Linked DNA regions of Homo sapiens: regions 2, 3 and 4 are each linked to region 1. Evidence: promoter capture Hi-C in 16 types of primary human blood cells and fetal thymus (Javierre and others, 2016). All regions are on one chromosome and are shown on one strand. Each heading gives the region's core, a stretch centred on a gene start or on the middle of the fragment in contact. The rest is flanking DNA. Distances are from core to core; before and after follow the strand shown. Region 1 holds the start of METTL4 (methyltransferase 4, N6-adenosine). Region 2 has its middle 220 kb from the start of LINC00470. Region 3 holds the start of TGIF1 (TGFB induced factor homeobox 1). Region 4 holds the start of MYL12A (myosin light chain 12A).

Region 1 (3,594 bases), core at 697-3,196:
AGCCTGTGGGACCACTGCTGAGTGTGTGGGCACTCAGTTTAAGTATTCAGTGATGCTCCTTCCAAACCACTGTCCTGTCCCCACCTCTTCCACTCCCACCCTTGGCCAAAGCACAGATCATAAGCCCTCTGCTCCGCTCCCCTCTGAGATTCGCCTTCCATGAGGAATTCAGGGCTTTCCCCATATCTTCTCTTCCCCACCTTTATCAAGAGATGCTGCTCCCTCCCCGTCAAGTCTCTTTTTGCACTGTCACCACCCAACACTTTCCACGACACTTCTTTGCTTTGACCAGAAGCCATAAGGTAAGGTTGGAAGAACATTTATTCACTCTCCACCAGCCTAGGAAATTAATAGTGGGTCCTCAGCCCTGCCACCTTCTGCTGTTATCATCAGCCTTTTAACTCAGGTTTTGATATGGTGAAAAGAGTCACCAGGGTTATTCAGACACCCCGGCTGTCAGGGTCCTTGGTGGTTAAACCTGGGAAAAGGCCACATGAAGACAACTGTAAGCACACATGATCCCTCTGAATTGTTTTCTTTTCCTGCAATTGTGCTTGCTCTTAAAAATTGAAGTTTTAAACAGGGCTCACATGTGATCATCCTTCCATCTATTGGAGTCTAGCTTGAAATGTGACAACCGGAACCAAAAGAACCTTGAATTTGGTGCCTACTTTGGTTTTGGTGCTGCTGCTTCTCAAGATCCTCAGCAGGGATTAAGAAGTTGGGGTGCACAGCAGGAATATCAGGAAATTGGCAGGCTTGACTTCCTGGCAAATTGCTAGCAGGACCACTAAATGCTGAACTGTACTGTGAATGTATACCGAAATACAAGCAATTATTTCTGTACTAAAGGTGTTTTTAATTTTGTATTTGTGTAAAACCACCTTTGGAAGCAGCAACTATCTAGTCAGAAAAGCAAATGATGTTTCCATTAATCTTTTCTGGGGAAAACATTAGTGCTAAGGATTTAACAATCTGTAGGTAAAGTTTAACCTAACAGTATTCCACAAGGAGACTTTTTATTATCAGACGGTTGCCTAATTTTCATATAATTTTTATATTAATATAATCCTTGGTTCCTCCCCATCCCCTTCATAGGCCACAGCTGAGGTGAAAAGGGTCCTGGAATGGCTAGTGAGAGCTAGAAATTCAGACGGGAAAATTGAAACTCAGAGCAGAAAGGCAAGCTGCCCAAAAATAACAACGCTAGTTAATGGCACAATTGCTACCAGACCCAAGTATCCAGACTTCCTGGAGCTGTGAGATCTTTCATCACCACCACTCTCCAGGTACCGGGCAGTGCCTGTTTCTGGATTCAAACTCACAGCAGCGAGGAAATCCTATTTTAGCAAAGTGATCTACTGTTACTGTTGTTAGTGCACCCCTCTCCTGCGTCTCTGCTTCACATCCACTCCCTCGCCGCCCGCCCCCAAACACTTGGATTCTTCCTAGCCTCTCACAGGTCAGCCACCACCAGAGGACCGTGAGCCTCCGGCAAGTGATCAAATACTGAGCCCGAATTTCGGCAGCCGTACCAACGCAATCCTGGGAGCCCATTCCACCCACTCCGCAGCCCCTCTCCCACCTCACCTCTTCCCTTGTCAGAAAAGCGGACGCCGCCTTCCCAGACTCTCCTCATGAAAACAGCACCCATCTAAATAGTGATCATGAAAAATGCCCCTTCCAGTCCACAGAGAAAAAGCTTTCTCCTTTTCTAAGAGTCCATGGGCGCCGCCATGTTGCTGTACGGAAAAACGTTTCCAGGGCGAGTTGAGCGTTCAGGGCACTCCTCGGCGCTCAAGCTGCCCACAGGTCTTCCGACCTAACTTTAGGGGTCGTGCCAGTCTTCGTAGAGACGGCCACACTGGCCCACAGACCCCAGTTCCTGGGGTGACGCAGCTGGGCGCGACCAGCACGCAGCCTTCCAGCGACGAGGCGGTCGCATGGAAGTTACTGCGCGCGTCGTGCGTAATGACGTCAGCGCCGGCGGAGAATTTCAAATTCGAACGGCTTTGGCGGGCCGAGGAAGGACCTGGTGTTTTGATGACCGCTGTCCTGTCTAGCAGATACTTGCACGGTTTACAGAAATTCGGTCCCTGGGTCGTGTCAGGAAACTGGAAAAAAGGTGACTGAATGACATCGGATTAACTTTGTTTCTGCAGAGCTGTTCTGGAGGAAGAAAGTGATGGCGCCAATGACTTAAATTTAGAGGTCCTGAGGCGATGTTTTGGTGTTTGTTTGCTGTTGGGAGAAGCCTCGAGGCCAAAACTGTGCGAGGCGCTGGTTTCACGGGATCTATTAAATTTCTAGTGGCAACGATTTCCCAAGGAGGAAAGGGGAGGGCCTGGGGGACACTGATGAGGAGTGGAGGCTCGGGAGAGGAAACGGGGAAGAATTGAAGGGGGCGGAAAGAGATGGACAAGAGAGGACTCGTTGGGTGGGTTGCGTCTGAATACTAGTGTAGCTTCTTATGGCCGTGTAGGACTGCGTGTAGAAGTCTTCATCTTAAATCATGAGAGCTACATTCTAAGTGGAGATTAAACGTGGACACACAGGTGTGAGTGGAAAAGTTGAATAGATGAACAAGCGCATATTGAAGAGGAAATAGGCGGCCAAAATCAAGAAGAGTCTAATCAGTGTAAAAGACTAAGGAGTACCCAGAGAAGTAAAAGGATTGTCACCTTCCTGAAAGCCAGGGCAGGACCTGAGAAGGCTGGGTGCAGAGATGAGACAGGATCAAAAGTTTTGTCAATCATGTGTATCCTAGGAGACAAATTTTTTAGCAGATGTGAAGGGAGTGACCTGTTAATGTGGTTTGTAAATGGAGGCAGCCTATAGACCATTTTATGGACCGGATGATTTATCCTTGTTGAAGGGGAGATTGATGCCAAAAGGGCAGTAATTGAGGAAACAATGGGTTAAGGACAGAGCAGGAGAGATTGACATTAGGAAAACAGAATAATTCCATTCTCTGAAACCAAAGAAAAGGAAACATTTTGAGGTGAATAAGAGAATTTGAGGTAATTTTTTTGTCTTCCTATTGAAATAGGCACAGCCAACAGCAGTAATGTGGTCTGGGTAACAGACAGGGCTTTAGCTACCACGGATACCCTTGTGAAGGCAAAAACCGTAACTTACTCGTCTTTGCATCTCCTGCATTGCCTAGCACACTCCCCTATATATATAGTGGGCAGTTAATAAATGTTTATGTTGAATATTTTTAAATGGAATTAAATAGATGTTCCTTGCAAATGAGAACTTCAGTGTACATGAACAAAAAAGAGATACCCCAGGGGAAAGATGATGATCTTGAAGAAACAATGAAACCTGACTGTCTTTCTGTTTAAGGATAAATAGTTGCTTAATGTACCATCTCTGTCTGGAAAGTTTTTTTTAAATACTGAATTCGTGAATGTAGGTCATAAGCATGAAGCGCAGTTCAGTTTCCAGCGGTGGTGCTGGCCGCCTCTCCATGCAGGAGTTAAGATCCCAGGATGTAAATAAACAAGGCCTCTATACCCCTCAAACGTGAGTATTTCCCTTGTGGTTCTAATTTGCATGCTTTATCATCTTAGGCAAAGAAATCATAAGAAA
Region 2 (3,594 bases), core at 705-3,204, 1.0 Mb before region 1:
GTATGGTGTGAGTCCAGGTCTTCTCAATGTAAGTCCTAGACTTGTTCATTATACAAGGCAATTCCCAGTTTCAGATCTGGATGACTGAGTGGATAATGATGAGAATAGCAACTGATAAGACAGGATAGCAAGAACATTTTTTAGGGAGGATATTCTGCCAAATCTTGATTTTTGGTTACTTTCTAGATTAATGAGGCAGAGTAGGGACCCCTCTTAAAGGCCTTGTGGACCCCATCAATCATAAAAATAAAGGAAACTTATTGAGTTCCTTCGAGGGAAATTCCAGTCACCCAGTACGCCCTGAGAAGAAAATGAGCAACCTGATAAGGAAGAAGGTAGAAATAGCTTAAAACAATAGCCAAGGAAGTTTGAGTCACAAAATGTTTGGTTCCCGTAGAAACTAAAGATAATATATTAACATATGTCCCTGAGTTGTTTTTCAAACACCTGGACCCCCACCAAATGAAAAACGCTGTCCACTGGCACGGAGACTTCAGATAAGGGGGAACTGTGGTCAGAACTCTGGCCACTGTTCTTTTTTCTAAATTTCTTCCTGAGGGGCCTGGACTAAGTCATGTACACAGGCCAGAGCTCAACATTCCTTTCTGCTGACCCCAAGTTTTCGATAAAGCTTTGCTCTCTTAACCAATCACAAATCAGAGAATCTTTGTATATCCACCTGTGGCCTGTAAGTCCCTGCTTCAAGATGGCCTGCCTTTTAGGCAAACTAATGTATAGCCTTCATGCATTGCCTATAACCAACCTCCCTGCCTTTAAAAACTCTTAACATGTACGCCATTGGAGAGTTCAGAGTCTTAAGTGTTAACTTCCTAATTCCCCATGCTTCACTTTATCTTGCTGCAAATCCTGATATTATTGTTCAGTTTTGCTGCACTGAGCAGGCAGACCCAAGTTCGGTTTTGCAACATTAATAATTGATGTAATTAGTTACTCTTCATTCTTTTATACTCCTGTAGAATTTCTTCAAAGCTCAGTTACAGTCCTTGTCATTCATACTTCATTGTATAGTTCTTTCTAACCACAAGTTCGTTCCTTACAGCTCATCTCATTGTATCTGTCATTGTTCTTACTAAAATCCTCTGCACATAGTGGGTAATTGGTAAATGCTTGATGAAGGAATTGGATTTATAGCTCTAGATAACAGATTTACAATAACACATTAAATAAGTAAATGTAAGACTAATAGGTTTACATTAAATTTAATAATGCAAGGTCTTTATAAACTTGGTTACAGAAAAACTGACTTAAATTTTGTAAGAAAGCTATCAATAAAGGGGGGAAAGGGGGGCTTTTAAATGTCATAACATGTCCATTAAGTAAAGTTTACAGGTGCTTCAGTAGCATGGGTCTGTTTTTGAGCCACAGCCAATGTAATTAGCAGGTGAGATTCCAGACCTCCAATTGTCAAGGGATTTAGTATAAGCTCAATAAGCAGGTGTGAAGAAGGCAATAATCAAAGGTGAGAAAATGAGAAAGTATATGCAAAGATTCAGTTCCACATATCCTTTTATCATTGATAATAGTAATGAGGTATGAAGCCATTGCAGATAGAATTGTCTTAATATGATCAGAGTGAGCTCACATCACTCAGCACCCTATGGACAGGGTAGTAGAGAGGTGAAAAGAGGTTCTTCCCTGATCACAGGCTGTCTTTTTACTGTCAGTAGCCTCTGACCCGACAGAATAATTAGCTTCTATTGTGTTAACCTGTGTTAGCCAGCAAGTAGAAGCGCAGACTATTGCAGCTATAGAGAGTTTTTTTTCTAACCCAATAACATACTCTTTGGACTGAGACCTTCCTTCAGCAGCTGTTGTAAAGATAATCAAGGCATCTCGCAGCAATACCTTCTTAAAAAAATTGTCTGTCAAGGCTAAATTTTATGTTCTTTCATACTGTAACTGGAAGAGAATTTACTATTTTTCAGACTACTATATCATTCCCAAAGCAGCAGAGGATTGTATAAATGTGTGGTATAAATTATAAAAGTGGAAAGAAAAACATTAATAACAGATATGGTAGATATGAAGTCTTTTCATAAATAAATATTTTGACCGTTGGGTGTTTACTGGCTAAAGAAAATATGGATTAGACCATTGACAAGCACTCTGTTTATTAGCTCTTGAGCATCAAAAATTACAAATGATGTTGCTTTATTAGTTTATTATAATTACTGTGTTCTCTTATCCAAGGAAGGCTAGTAGCACATAAGGATTTCTCAGCTAAAACACATAGTTTTGAGAATGAATTGATTTCCCTGAGCCTTACTTAGGGCCTTGACATTTCCAGCTTTTCATTGTCCATTGTTTAAGTTTTGTGGATACTCAATCTGTTTTCCATTACAAAGATCTGTTTTGTCTTTACTGTGTAATCATATCTATGACTATTTCTCTATTAAAAACATTCCATTAGTTTCTATATAAGTTTATTTATGGATCCCAGTTCCTATCCTGAAGCAATAGAAGGCGTTTTTTGCTTATCCAGTAAAAATGATAGGTATTGACTATTTTAGGGGCTAAAAATAAGAGTGTTGCAGGATTAAGAAAATGCCTTCAAGTACCACATATATACTATCAAAGTCGATCTGATATTTAAATCCTTACGAATGCAGAAAGAACTCTTTTGGACAAATCAGTTGTCTTCAGCATCCTATCTATATTTGTAAATAAAGTTTTATTGAAACACAATCATGTCCATTCCTATGGTCAGTGGCTGTTTTTGCTCTATAGTGGCAGAGCTGAGTAGTTGTGACAGACTTCTGTGGTGACCTTATAGCCCACAAAGCCTAAAATATATAAGATCTGCCCTTTTACACAAAATATTTGACAACTCCTAGGTATTGGAAGTTGTCTGGTAGTCCTTGCTGTCCTCAATTGTGAAAAGATGACCAACTACCACACACACACACACACACACACACACACACACACACACACACACACACACTTTCATTTAGGAAACACACTACATGGGAAGCAAGTATCAAACAAGAGCAGAGAGTAACTGCCTTCCTTTCTGTGTAGGCCTATATTTCTAGAGTAAGTATGGTACCAAATGTACCTAAAATATATGTTTGTGTTGTTTTATGTACTACTTTAGAGCTTAGTTCTTCCACATAATCATTTAATTTTATTATAATAGCCTCATAAAGTAGATAATGCAGACCTTATTGTACTGACTTTCCTTATAAAGAAAGTAAAGTTTTAATGTAGAACTTCATTAAGTACCCAGCAAATAAATTTAATGAAAATCTCATCCCTAAGCTTAAAACTTATGTATCTGTCAGTCCTCTTTTGGCATAGAAGCTGTTCTGTCTTTACTGTACTGTTTCCTCTTTCTGGGAAAATGGAAAGACTACTTTTCCTGGCTTTCATACCATTAGTTTGGGTCATGAGATAGAGTTTTGACTGATGGATTGTGGGTGAAAATGATGTAAGATATATCTAGACTTTGTCCTTAAAAACATCTGATGCTACCTGCCAGTTCATTTTTCCTCTGCTTATGGATAGCATAGTTGCAAGATAAGGGAGGTGGCTACTTTTCAAAATTGCATTGTATTTTTTGAGAGTAAGAAA
Region 3 (3,594 bases), core at 1,095-3,594, 880 kb after region 1:
AGAGCAGGGCCAGTAGAGTTCGGGGCAGCTGTCAAAAACGAGACGGGGAGGCTTTTCTTCCCGGGGGTGGAGGAGGGAAGGAGGGAGGTGTCCTTTTTTCCATCTGTTGCAGTTTCCGAACCAAACGCACCCTCGCCAGCCCCGGGAAGAAAGGCCCAAGGGAGAAACCTGGGGCGCTCGGCTGGTGCCCCCACCGCCGGGCGAGGGATGCGGGCGGTCCGTGCGCGGCAGGCGGAAAGGATCGTGTTTCTGGACCCGGCCACCCCCCGCGTCCGCACCGCCGCCCCCGAGGGACGAGTGACAGCGGCCGCCGCGCTCGGTCCAGTCTTCCCGGCTGGAAGGTGCGGGGGAGGGGCGGAGGAGCGGCGGGGCGGGAGGGGGACGGGGCGGGCGGCTGGGGGCGGAGGCAGGACCTCCTGTACCTTCCCTCCTCGCCTCTCTCACTCTGACAGCGCCGAGGTGCGCCGAGCAGGAGCAGGGAACAAAGGAGCGGAGAGGGGAGGGGAGAGAGTTGGGCGAGGGAGAGCCCCCGGCCGGCTGCCAGAAGATCCCGGCGGGAGGAAGCCCAAGTGTCACTTGAATTCCACCCAAGGAGCGGGCGCCTGGGATCAGAGCGTCCTGTTTAGCAATAACGGCTGGAGCACGTCCTACAAGTTACGGGAGAGTCGGCTGTGAAGGAGACGTTCGCTTATCCCCTGTGTCCCCGCTCCTGGCCCCTCCAGACCCCCGCCTTGCCTCGCGCTGGGAGGGGAGATCCAGAATGAAAGGCAAGAAAGGTAAGGCGGCCGCGGGCTGCGCGCACCAGAAGACGCGAGTCCGGGGAAACGTGCTGGCCGGGCCGCGCCGCGCGGAGTCACTTGGTGGACTTTTCCGCCCAGGGGCTCTCATGCTGGAGTGGCGGCCGTGCTCTTTGTTGAGGCTGCGTCTGAAACGGCAGCGGCTGTTTTCCTGCTAGACACAACACGAGGGGCTGTTGTGGGGCGAGCCTCTCCACGCTGCTGGCACGTTGTCAAGAAACACGCTCAGCGCCTTGTTTGTGCGCCTGCAAGTTTCATTGTCTCCGCCGACACCCCACGCTCGGCCCAGCCGCCGCGTGGCTTCTCGCTCTTTCTCGCGTGCTGGGGATATGGGGTCCGAGTAGGGAGGACCCAGCCCCTCGTTTTTCCCGATCCGGACCCAGGCGGCCGGGGCCGCGGGACCGCCGCGGCTTTGTCTGAAAGTTCCACTCCTAGGCTCCCCCCGCCCCCGCCCCCGCCGCCCCCCTACTCCCAGCCGGGCCCTAGCACTGTTCTTTAGGGATGTGGTGTTTTTACGATCGAAGGAATGCGATTCTGGACCCCCTCATCGCCCTCGGGTGTAAACAGCTTTGGAAAGCTAGACTTTTACAAATCCCCAGTCTCTAAAAGTTTTCCCACGATGAATTTTGGGGCAGGAGGAAGAGTTAGCACCCAGGGCCAGCAGCTTCAAGCGGCATGCAGTCAAAATGCGTCCAAATGTGACAAGCAGGCTTGGTTGTAAGTGCAAAGAGCAAGGCTGTCATTGTTTCCACGAAGTGTTCTGGAAGCTTTACAACTAAAACTTGCCGTCAGTTTGGTTTAAAAACAAAATACACCGGAGGGGGACGGGGGGTGGAGAAACCACACAAAACACCCCGAAAGGTCAGAGTGTGAAGTCCCTTTTGAAGTTAACAAAAATTGAGTCCCTGGCTGGGAGGTCCCCCGAGTGTTCCGCTGTGGGCTGGAGGTGGCGTTTCTGTCGTGATTTATGTGGAGTGGTTCAAAACAGAAGTTAATCACTCGGGAAGCGGACGGGAGGGGCGGCGCTACTGCGCATGCCCGGGAGCCGCCTGGAGTTTGGAACTCCACATTCTTTCAGACCCGGCCCGCTGCGGGGCGTTCCTGGGGGGTAGCCTCAAGGCCAGCGGGGTTCCTTCGGCTGCGTTTCTGTGGGAGGCCCTGAAACGCGCGGAGCTTCCCTCTGCCTCCAGGCTTTCCCAGCGAGAGTGAAATTAAACTTGAAACTCGGATCAACTGGCAGTCGTTGTTGGTAGAACGCCCTAAGGACCCCTCCCCGCGGGACGGAGGGAGGACTCGGGACAGGGAATTGGCCCTGGGAGAAAACGCGCGGGGGGCGTCCGAGACGCCCCGTGAAAGCCGTGCCGACCCTTGGGAGGACTGACAGGTCTAGAGACACGCGCTGTCTGTTGTGGTGGGCCTCCCGGGAATAAGTGAGGGGCTCTGTGTTTCGAGGATGGTTCTAGCGCAGAGCCGGGTGTCTGCCGGGGTGGGCTCCCCGCATTGTTCGGGCTCCGGCGGGGGCGGCTCTGATTCCTTTCCATGGCCCGCCTCCCACCCCGGGAATCCCCAGTGCTCCTTTTCCACGGCTTTTCTGGCGTCCCCCCGACTCTCCCGCGGCACTTTGGCCTACCTTCCCCCAGCGCCGTGGTCCTCCCTGGCGACCCCCTCTGCGCTCCTGGGGTCCTCCTGCGCCCCCCCTCCTCCACCGGCGCGCTGCCCACAGCCGCGTGCCCTCTCCCCGGAGCTGGGGACCAAGGCTGGGCCCCGCCGGCCGCATCGGTGGGAACTTCCGCGGTCCCCATCCCAGGGCGCACAGGGTCCAGCTCCTCGGCGCCGACTCCTGGAAACAATGAAAGGTGACGGGCTGAAGGGGAAACTTTGCGACTGGTTCAGGGCTCTTTGGGGGAGCCGAGGCTGCCGAGGTTACCCGGGTTTCTTTCCCCTTTTAGGTTTCCCTGGCGAGTCGTCTGGGGTGGGCAGGCCTCTGAGAAGGTGGGATTCACGGCCTCATTTCTAGTTTCTTGGGTCCTGGAGTTCCTTTGCTTGTGCTAACTCGTGCAGTGTGCGGGCCGGCCTGTTTCACTTGAGGCCGAGGAACTCTCAAGAACAAAAGCTACTTGCTTTTCCTCCTTGGGCCCCTCCCTCTCCCCGTGCTCCTCCGCCGTCCTCCTCTAAAACTACCTGGGAGGGGGGAGCCTTCCCCGTCGGCTCTGGAAAGACTCCTGAGGAAGTCGGGCCCTCCTTACTGTCTTGTCTTATAAAAGTCTGCAAATCTTTTCAAGTTTTCTTAAAACAAGTGCACTTTCAGCTCCATTCCTGAGCCCGGGGTAAGCTTGGTTTGTGATAATAGTGTGTCCTCCCAGAAAGCTGAGAGTGACGCCAAAAGATCTCCTAAAATGACTTAAAAACAATGAGAAGGATCGATAAGGAAAATCCACTAAGTCTTTTTGCTCCCAGTTTTTAACTGTTGAATTCCTGCTTTGGGATTGCTCTTTGGCTGGGGTAGCCAACCATACCTTGGATTTGGTGGCTTGAGTGTTCAATGCCTGTTGCTTCTCCCAAGGAGATACTGATTTTTTTTTTCTTTTGTTCCTGGAGACCGGGTCTGGCTATGTTGCCCAGGCTGGTCTCGAACTCCTGGGCTCAAGAAATCCTCTCGCCTTGGCCTCCCAAAGTTCTGGGATTACAGGCAAGAGACATTGCTCCCAGCTCAAAGGAGAACTTCTGGTCAGGAAACTTGTTGAGTTAAATTTGCTTTTTCCTAATTGTGCATCTCGACTTTTCCCATCAATCTTAT
Region 4 (3,594 bases), core at 1-2,500, 680 kb after region 1:
GTTAACTTTGGAATACGTTAGTGGTTAATACACGGAACGTTCCCGAGATCCCTCAAGAAAGAAGCTACGAATACTTAGAAGATACTATTCCGCGGCGTTTACAGCAACACTGTCCGTTCCAGAAGGATTCAAGTGGCGGCCTGCTTTGAAGGCGAAGACCACAGGGCAACCCAAACTTCAGAAGGGTTCTGGCCACGGGAGCCACACTGGTCACTGTCCCCTAGTGCTGGGATGACGGCTCGAGTGTTAGAGGATCCCACTCTCTCCTCTGGTAGGTGAGGTCAGAGAGCTGAGGGGGCCAGAACAAGTCTTCCTTATCGGATTCTGGGCGGAAAAAGATAAAGTCGGGGAGGACTTTCTCTTTTTAATAAGATTCATCGTTACGAATTGTTCTAGGCAAGCAGACCTCAGGAGAAATAGGCCCAAGTTTTGATTCCTGTTTTCACCAAGTCGCAAGTCCTAATCGTAGCAAGAGGTGCGGGGAAGAGTCGCCTTCCTTCCTGCATAGTGGGATCCAAGTCAGGCTGTCCTTGTTAGCCAGGGTCAAAGGGGCTCTGCCAGGGAAAAACGACGGCAAATGTTTTTCAAGAGGAAGTCTCCAGCCACTTGTGACCTGGGAAATCCGTCTGGGCCAAAAAGATAGTGGAGGCTTGGCTGAGGGCCCCAGGGACACACGTTTCCTCCCGTATGGAGGGGGCGGGACTCTTAATAAAATTACACTGCACACAGAGCTAGCATCAAGATCCGCTCCCGGGATACGCGCACTGCTCCGGGGCCCTCAGGCGGAGACCCAGACCCCGCGCGGGGCGTCAAGCGCAGGCGCACTACCGCCCACAAGCTGGAGCCCGGCTTCGGGGCGGGGCGAGGGTCAGTCACGTGGGCCCGCAGCCCTCTCCTCGATTTCCCTACAAGGACTTGGGCCGACGGGCCCCGCCCTTCGCCGTGCCCTGGAATGTGCGGCCAGGCAAAGCCACAGGACGGACGCAACCATCTGCGGAAAGGATAGGGGGGAGGAAGACTTAACACTGCAACAACAGGTACAAAAAAGAAGGAAACTCAGTAACAGGACCCAGAGGACCATTATATATTGCTCTATATTCTAGGTCGCCCACTTTACACTTCCTTCTCATGCACTTGGTCAATACCACGCCCGCTGACCACACTGGCGACTTCCCTCTCTGTCGCCCCTCCGTGAAGTCAGACCCACTCTGCGGGCCAAGAAAGGTGACCGGGCTTCCTTCCGGCTTGCTAAGCAGAGGCCGGAAGCGGTGGTTTTTAGCGGCTCTCTGGGTAGCAGGGTGGTGTGATAGCGGCAGCGAGGGGCTCGGAGAGGTGCTCGGATTCTCGTAGCTGTGCCGGGTGAGTGGCGCTCGCGTTCGGGCGCGTGAGACCCATCCCGGGGACCCGTCTCCGCGGGGGCAGCTGGAGGGCGGCGGGGCTCCTGGCGCCGGTAGCGCACCTGGGCAGGTGTGCCAGCCAGGTCCCCGGTTCTGGGATCCGAGGCCATGGCTTGGAGTGGCCCAGACCCGAACTTCGCTCCTGTGCCCAAACTTGGAACTCTGGAAATGTGGCTTCGCTCACTGGCGCCTTGAGCTTGGGCGACTGCCGGGCCCGCGAAACCCGACCCCTGCAGAGCTGACTCCGGGACTATTTTAGTTTCTAACGTCAACTTGCCCGATTCAAGAGGGTTTGCGCAAAAACGTAGCCCGTTGTCCCCCTGCTGCAGCTGTTGTTGCAGCTGTGTGGCTGCGTTTAGTAGGAATAACCAACTCAAATTGGGAAGTTCTTCAGCTCAGTATCCGCTCCTGTAATTAGAACTTTTTTTCTTTAAGCGATGAAATTTTGGACAGAGAGATCTGGAGTTTAGTTTGTGACTCGAAGAAAAACTCCAAAATGTAATACCTTGTCCCATTTGGGGGGAAAGTTTGGGCTAATTCAATTCGCCATGGAAGTGTCTTCTTTTTAAAGTAGTTTAGTAGGTATATGAATGTATCTGTCAGTTCTTGAGAGACCTATGGATTTAGCAGAGATTTTAACTTAAGTGCAAAAAGTTTCATATTTAAAGGCGAATAAAGCGAATATTTCTTAAAATTATTGGTATTTGTTTCATGTTCTGGAAGGGCTCTAATAAACGGTAATCAGAAAAGCACTCTATTTTCAAAAGCGAGGCTTTACTGGCAAGTCAGCCCTCACAGCTAATTGTCTTTGTCCAGTGGTGAGAACTTTTGGGTGTGGCAGTCCAAGAGAACGAATCCTACCTTCAACCGGAAGTTTGCATAAGAAATGAAACTTGGTTTACTTGGAACGGAAGCACCAACTTGAAATACACTTTTTAAAAATTGTGGTTAGCACCAGAAAATAAGTTATACTTAGGCTTTTTTTTTTTAAGTGCATTGATTAAATGAGGCGGTATATTTGGTCAGGGTTTAGAAAGCCCACCAAATACTAGGTGCTATCACAGTACGCAGTGTTTTGTAAGATGGTGGTTTTTTCTTGCAGAATGTGTGATATTTCTCAGAATATTATCAATTTGAGTGTTCGTTTTGTAGAAGAAGTTTCTAGGTTATTTTACATTTATTGCCACTTTGTAAATAAATGCTGGACTCTAGGATTCTAACCACAGAACTCTAATGTATATATTGGTATGGATTAATCCCATTTTATAAATGAACATAGTTTCTAGAGATTCTGAAAACTTCTTGTGTCCTTTGGTGTGTGGGGAAAGCCACTTTGAGAATCTCTTCTATTTCTCCCACCTATTAATCTAGTCTAACATTTTCCTTAATCATGTTGTGTATCTCTCGTTACAGCCCACAATGATTCTGAGCTAAAACACAAAATAAAAACCAGATTCATTGCCACCAGCGCTCACCTCGCCTGACTTAAAAAAAAGGTTATGCTCCTTTAGATCTGTAAACTCAGTCTCCTAACTGCCCTTCATCCACTTTCTCATGCATCTGAAATCCTCATATTTTGTAGAAGCCTGTTCTGTAAGTCTCTCTACTTTCCAGTTTCGTACAACAGACACTCCTTGACACCAAGGATCTTTCACTTAATCCCTCAAAAATAAAGACTCGAGCTGGGTGCGGTGGCTCACGCCTGTAATTCCAGCACTTTGGGAGGCCGAGGCAGGTGGATCACGAAGTCAGGAGTTCAAGACCAGCCTGCACAAGGTGGTGAAACCCCGTCTCTACTAAAAATACAAAAATTAGCTGGGCATGGTGGTGGGTGCCTGTAATCCCAGCTACTCCAGAGGCTGAGGCAGAGAATTGCTTGAACCCTGGAGGTGGAGGTTGAGATCGCGCCACTGCACTCCACCCTGGGCGACAGAGCAAGACTCCGTCTCAAAAATAAATAAATAAAAATAAATAAGTAAATAAAGACTCGACTTTATGATTGAGGAGCTTCGTAATTTGGAAACCTCAGGTCCTTACCTGGCGATCTTTGCATCCTAAAGAATAATTACATTGACATGAAATCTTTTCAATTTATTTTACCCTAGCTTGCTTTTTGTAAAAAGCAATTTCAGGGGGGAGGGGGGAGGGATAGCATTAGGAGATATACCTAATGTTAAATGACGAGTTAATGGGTGCA

The links. Contacts are between HindIII fragments. The CHiCAGO score rates a contact against its expected background, and 5 or more counts as called.
Region 2: a fragment that was not itself captured here is called in contact with the fragment with the promoter of METTL4 in region 1 in 1 of 17 cell types (M0 macrophages); the score reaches 6.7 in M0 macrophages.
Region 3: a fragment that was not itself captured here is called in contact with the fragment with the promoter of METTL4 in region 1 in 2 of 17 cell types (fetal thymus and naive CD4 T cells); the score reaches 10.9 in fetal thymus.
Region 4: a contact is called between the fragment with the promoter of MYL12A here and the fragment with the promoter of METTL4 in region 1, in 2 of 17 cell types (fetal thymus and naive CD4 T cells). The highest score is 8.7, in fetal thymus.

What each region holds. Positions count from the first base shown.
Region 1 is chr18:2,569,559-2,573,152 of GRCh38, forward strand. It overlaps METTL4 (methyltransferase 4, N6-adenosine), which reads right to left and starts at 1,947. Exons shown (of 9, transcript NM_022840.5): 1 at 1,591-1,947. NDC80 (NDC80 kinetochore complex component) reads left to right here and starts at 1,999. Exons shown (of 17, transcript NM_006101.3): 1 at 1,999-2,125; 2 at 3,419-3,528. The coding sequence starts at 3,428. RefSeq lists enhancers at 1,040-1,962, 1,845-2,004. The HindIII fragment of the contact is 2,186 bases long and covers 1,701-3,594 here.
Region 2 is chr18:1,573,521-1,577,114 of GRCh38, forward strand. No RefSeq gene overlaps it. Among named protein-coding and RNA genes, the nearest start is that of LINC00470, 220 kb to the left of the region's middle. The HindIII fragment of the contact is 2,651 bases long and covers 630-3,280 here.
Region 3 is chr18:3,449,730-3,453,323 of GRCh38, forward strand. It overlaps TGIF1 (TGFB induced factor homeobox 1), which reads left to right and starts at 443. Exons shown (of 3, transcript NM_003244.4): 1 at 443-776. The coding sequence starts at 761. It overlaps LOC124904237 (a long non-coding RNA gene), which reads right to left and starts at 927. Exons shown (of 2, transcript XR_007066269.1): 1 at 803-927. RefSeq lists silencers at 193-302, 333-492, 1,133-1,182 and enhancers at 1,760-2,381, 2,382-3,003, 3,004-3,594. The HindIII fragment of the contact is 1,565 bases long and covers 1,563-3,127 here.
Region 4 is chr18:3,246,551-3,250,144 of GRCh38, forward strand. It overlaps MYL12A (myosin light chain 12A), which reads left to right and starts at 1,251. Exons shown (of 4, transcript NM_006471.4): 1 at 1,251-1,359. It also overlaps a transcript of MYOM1 not described here. RefSeq lists enhancers at 958-1,187, 2,320-2,389 and a silencer at 1,478-1,557. The HindIII fragment of the contact is 13,247 bases long and covers 1-3,594 here.